Regions from separate parts of the Homo sapiens genome. Here region 1 is linked to region 2. Evidence: promoter capture Hi-C in 16 types of primary human blood cells and fetal thymus (Javierre and others, 2016). All regions are on one chromosome and are shown on one strand. Each heading gives the region's core, a stretch centred on a gene start or on the middle of the fragment in contact. The rest is flanking DNA. Distances are from core to core; before and after follow the strand shown. Region 1 overlaps ELAC2 (elaC ribonuclease Z 2). Region 2 holds the start of MAP2K4 (mitogen-activated protein kinase kinase 4).

The links. The method cuts DNA at HindIII sites, captures the fragments that hold promoters and counts their contacts. A CHiCAGO score of 5 or more calls a contact.
Region 1: a contact is called between a fragment that was not itself captured here and the fragment with the promoter of MAP2K4 in region 2, in 1 of 17 cell types (M0 macrophages). The highest score is 8.2, in M0 macrophages.

What each region holds. Positions count from the first base shown.
Region 1 is chr17:12,995,575-12,998,351 of GRCh38, reverse strand. It overlaps ELAC2 (elaC ribonuclease Z 2), which reads left to right. Exons shown (of 24, transcript NM_018127.7): 17 at 1,667-1,805; 18 at 2,374-2,412; 19 at 2,540-2,649. Among named protein-coding and RNA genes, the nearest start is that of ELAC2, 21 kb to the left of the region's middle. The HindIII fragment of the contact is 1,671 bases long and covers 415-2,085 here.
Region 2 is chr17:12,019,481-12,022,180 of GRCh38, reverse strand. MAP2K4 (mitogen-activated protein kinase kinase 4) reads right to left here and starts at 1,304. Exons shown (of 11, transcript NM_003010.4): 1 at 1,180-1,304. The coding sequence starts at 1,294. It also overlaps a transcript of ZNF18 not described here. RefSeq lists a silencer at 588-1,467 and an enhancer at 1,004-1,504. The HindIII fragment of the contact is 6,257 bases long and covers 1-2,700 here.

The DNA of each region.
Region 1 (2,777 bases), core at 1-2,500, 980 kb before region 2:
GTCCTGCTGTACTCACCAGTCGATTTGAAATGCGGTATCAAGCCCTGTCACTTGTCATGTCGACTGGAGTGTCCAGGAGAGGAGCGTGGCCTTACTGCATTTTATAGCCTCAGTAGCAAACTTTACCCTGGGAATCACCAAAATTCATCCCATGATGTCTTTTAATAAACAGCTGATTTTACTGTGGGCAGTACACCTAGCTAAGAAATTAGCTCCTTTAATTTTTACATTAATCCTATGAAGTGGTGAATAACTACCCATTTTGTTGATGAGTGACCTGATATTCAGAGAGGTGACTTGCTATGGTTCCTACAGCTGGTAAGTGGGGCATCTGAAGTTTGAGCGGGGACTTGGGGTCTTGATTGCTACATGGTATTGTCCCCCAGCCATTTGTTGGTAGTATGTTAAAAAGCTTTAGGGTTTTGCACATTTGTGTTCAGAACCTTTATTGGATTCCCCTTGACATGTTTTTTAGTTGATTCTCTTGGGTTTGCCTGGGGTCATCAGCAGAGAGATTAGTCAAATGCGTTGTGACATGTACACGTTATCTCTACAGATAGTATGTGAAGAAAATAAGATTGTGAATTACCAGGTTTGTTTTAAATTTTGCTCTGCCATCTTACATGCTAGTGGTGGATGATAAACAACCAAATAGTGCATTAAATATATACAGCAGTGACGAGATGTGCCCTGACATCAGAAATATACAATCTGGGGTGTGTTTCTCTGTGGATGAGGACATGCAATAAAGCAGCTTGGAGTGAGCCGGCCTCTCCCGGGGGCTGAGATCCTGGGGGAAGAAGGGCTTTTTGAGTTTGACCTGACACCCTGCGAGCAGCTTTTGAACCAGCTGAAGCTAATGGGAAGGTGCTATTGCCACCTTGCCTCCGCCTCCCGACTCCTTTTTCCCCCAGAAGGTAATGTCTTAGCACCGGGGCTTCTCTCTGCAAAATGGGTGCAGCCCTCTCAGTGTTCGTGGCTCCTCCCAGAGAATGAAGGAGGCCAGAGCGGGTCAGCACTCTCTCTGCCTTGGAGCAGAGCTTCTGAAATGGACTGCACAGCAGAATAGCCCAAGAAGTTTGTCAGAATCCAGACTTCCAGAGCCCTGCCTAAAACCAAGTCAGAAACCCCGAGTGACACCTGGGAGTCTGCGTTAACTGGCTCCCTGAATGAAGCACCTGCAGCCCGCCCTGCACCAGGTGTCTTTGAGGACATGAGCTGAGGAAACCCCGACCACTTGCAAAGGGGGAAAAGTCCGATGGCAGCTGGACCTAGAAAGAGTCTCATATGGCCCAGTGCCTGTCCTGGTATTTTCAACAGAGGCTGTGGCCACAGTCAATCTGCATGGTCAGATTCATTGTTAGGACTAAATGCTTTAAGCCTCCTATAAACTTTTTTTTTTTTTTTTTGATGCCCAGCCTTTGTGTAAGTCTACTTGAAAGGGTTTCAGGGTTCCATGGATACTTCTTTGCTATAAAGAGGATGACACATGTAAAATCACCTTTATGGTTAAATTAATTGGCTTTTATATTAGCTCCTCAAAGCAAAGCAGGAGAGACAGAAATTTCTGCAGTTGCTTCTTGGTCCTGTCCAAAGCAGACATCAGCCTCTGAACCATCAGCAGTCTTCCTAGTGGCAGTGACTCTCTTCCTCTTCTCTTCTGCAGCCCCGACACGTCTCTGCTACTGGACTGTGGTGAGGGCACATTTGGGCAGCTGTGCCGTCATTACGGAGACCAGGTGGACAGGGTCCTGGGCACCCTGGCTGCTGTGTTTGTGTCCCACCTGCACGCAGATCACCACACGGTGAGTGTTGGGCTGGACCACAAAGCTGGAGCCTGGAGGAGGCACTGCCACGTTGAGTTGGCCCTTTGGCTGCGTCTTTTCCTCCGCTTCCAAACTTGCCCAGAGCTTTTGTTACTCATCTCTGGCTAGGAAATGGTTTTTTGCAAAACTCAACATAGTCCTTCTGCGCCACAAGAATGTCTTCTCTTCCTGTTCAGTTCCTTTCCTGCAGCAGGACAGGTTTGAGTTTACCCAGCCTTCCTTGAGTCTTGAATCTCACACGGCCTGCTCAGCGGAAGCTTTGACCGGATGCAGGAGGTGTGGCTATGAGACCCTCACCTTGGTCTCCTGGGGTGCCGGGCCCTGGGCCGTTGCCCTCTTCCCAGCACGGGTCGTGTCGCTTTCTGCCTGTGACATTTCAGGGCCATGGCGCAGGGGGCTCGGCCTGTGCCACCCCCACTGCGGCTGTGTTAGAGGCTGGTGGGTGACGTCGGGCTGGCAACTCCTGCAAGAGAGAGGGCTGCAGACCCTAACCCGGAGGGGATGGCCCTGGGGCCTGGCTGACGCATGTCTCCTGTTTCCTTGCCAGGGCTTGCCAAGTATCTTGCTGCAGAGAGAACGCGCCTTGGTAAGTGTGGCACTTGATGGGCGTTCTGAGTTTCAGCGGTTTACACATCATCCGCCATGCCTCTTGGCACTCCAGTTTTTATTGAGATGTTCTGTCGTCGAGTCGGCACTTGCATTTTTTGTTCCAGGCATCTTTGGGAAAGCCGCTTCACCCTTTGCTGGTGGTTGCCCCCAACCAGCTCAAAGCCTGGCTCCAGCAGTACCACAACCAGTGCCAGGAGGTCCTGCACCACATCAGGTGAGCATCCAGGGCAGCCTGGCCCGCTGGGCTGTTGCTTGCTGCCGTCTCCTTCAGAAGCTCAAGGTGGACACTGGGGTAGTTACCAATATCCCCCAGCAGCCTTGCCCTTGACATGGTCCCAGATG
Region 2 (2,700 bases), core at 55-2,554:
AACATGAACTATTCAATAAATGTCTGTTGAACCTAACTAAATGCTAGAAGCCCTTTAAGAGGAATGGAATCAAAAAGTAACCATGGTCACACTGACTACCAAGGGTACCCCAACCCTTATTCTGTTAATAATTCAACACAAGCAGTTTGCTAAAGTTGTCAAGAGAGTTCTGAGATTCCCTGTTTTAAAAATAGCATTACTACTCAAAATTCCCCAGTAAATTTAAGGAAATGGTCCCTAACAGGCTCGGGCCTGGCCTGGTATTTTCACAACACCCCCTGTCAAAAGCCATACACAGCTAATAAGCATTCCCAGTGGGGAAAGTCATTAATTAGCAGAGCTGCCTCAAATGTCCAGACACTACAGTATCACTTTGACCCCTGTCTATTTCCTGTATCTCTCCATTTAAACCAAATTAAGTCTTCTTTTTTTTTTTTTTTTTTTTTCTTCCTGCACGCAATGCTAACACAGAAATCCCTGGCCTGGAACAAAATGCCTCTCCCAGGCCAATGCAGCCTACCTACCTTACAGGTGGCACAGGCCTGGGCAACCCGCCCCCCACCCCCATCCCTTCCAGCGCACAGAAACCCTGCAAAAGTTTGAAAACGCAGGTTCCAAGAGGCCCCCGTAGCCCGAGGTCAGCTCGGTGGTCCGGCTCCAGCTGTGCCCGGCGACAGCCAAGATGGCCCTGAGCGGGGCCCACTGCGGCGGCGGGGCCGAGGGGCGCCGGCCGGGGCCGCTGTCTTCGCCGCCTACCTGAGCGGCGTCAGGGACCAGGGGGCAGGCCCGACGCCCCTCCCGCTCCGCCGCAGCCCCGAGCCGGCGCGTTCCCGGAAACGGGGGCCGGGCGGGCGCCAGGTAAGCGGCGGGGGCGATGGGGACGGCCGCGGGGGCGGTCCCGGACCAGGTGGGCCCTGCGGGCCTGCTGAGAGCCCGGTAGGGCCCAGGGGCCAAGCGCAGGCAGAGGCCGCGGCCGGGGCCTATGCGGGCCGGAGCCCGGATCCAAGCCGGGCCGGAGGCGGCCGGGAGCGGGGCGGGAAGCCGGGGAGGGAGAGAGGGAGAAGCCGGCGGCTGCCGTGGCTTCCTCAGCCGGGTCCGGGGGCGTCCGCTGGGGCAGGCCGCGACGACGCGGGTTGCCGCGCTAGGGGGCTGGGATCTCGGCGCGGCCGCGTTCCTTACCCTGCATGCTGCTGACGGCCGGGTGGCCTGGCGCCGGGGACCCTACGGGGCCGGGGGTGCCGCTGCCGCTGCCGCCCCCGGAGCCGCCGCCGCCGCTCGGGCTCGGAGCCGCCATTGTTGGGAGTGAAGAGCCGAGCGGCGCCGCGGCGGCTGCAATGCAGCAAGCTCGGCCTCTCGCACGGCCGAGGGGCGAGGCTTACCCCCGCCTTGGCCCCGCCTCCGACACGCCCCGGACACGCCTCCTGACACGCCCCCGCCAGAGCCCGACGCGCAGCCCGGGCCAGATGCTGAGCTGCAGAACCGCCCGGCTCTGGGTGCGCGACCTGTGAAGCAGACAGCTGTCTTGGACCAGGGCTGCGGGCCCGCGGGGCCTAAAGTGGTTTGCAGAATTAAAGGTGGGCCTGCATTTGTGCGGAAAGAAGGTACGCAGCTTTCATCATTCCCATGGAGGTCTGTGACTCCCAAAAGTCCACTTTGTTGGAATCTCAGAACCCCAAATCAGAATAGTAAAGCTGAAAAGGATCCCAGGGATCCCTTTCTCCTCCAGTCGCTAACACATCACTTCCAGAAGGGAGTTACCTAGAGCTATGGTTACAGTCTGGAACTCCTCTTAAGCCCAATACCCCAACCCTCTACACTTCTCTGAGGGGAAAGGGGAGTCCCAAGGGGAACTAACCAAAGTGCTGTCCATGGACCCATCCCAAAACTACTGAATTAGAGGTTACATTTTAATAATACCACCAGGTAATTTGTATGCCCATTAAATTTGAGAAGCATATATTTAAGCACTCGACACTTCCCAGCCTCCTGAAATATGCTATCTACATCACCATCTTCCCCTAAATGCACACTGGATTCCCTCTCCCAAATCCTTTACATCTTGTATAAGACGAGCCGTAGTCATTATTGTAAGTTACATAAAATGACAACCCCAAAAAACAATATGAGGTTTCTTCCATTGCTTTGCACAGAGACTTTTATTTTAGGAAGACAGTAGCTAAAAGAAGAAAAAGTTCTCTATGAGGCTACGATTTGTAAGCCAACCATAATGTACTCGAAATGGTAAGACATGGGTTTCTGGCCAGGCAGCCTTGCCTAAAATGGAATAGCCAGTTATCCTACTTCCCAAAGAATCTAAGCCATGGAGCTGGACATTTTCTCCCATTTAGAAGCATTGTGTGATCTACAGCTAGACTTCTTTCCCAAAACTTCTTCCACCCAGATGTTATTTGATGCTGAGAGTTCTTCACAGCATGTTGGAAATGTGTCCTGGGTCAAAATAGCCCTGCCTTCTTGTTCCAAACCCAATTTCATCCATCATCTTGATGGCTCAGATCCTAAAAGTGGCTAGCCGTAAACATCAAGTGGAGAGGCATTAAAGGCAAATTGAAGGTGAGAGCAGGTAGGTGTACTTCAGTGGAGAGCCCGCCAGAATTCTCCTCCATGGGCCTCGTTGGCTGCCCAATATCTTCAAGTCCAGGTCTTATAAACATGGCCAGATTCCCATCTGGAAATCAGTAG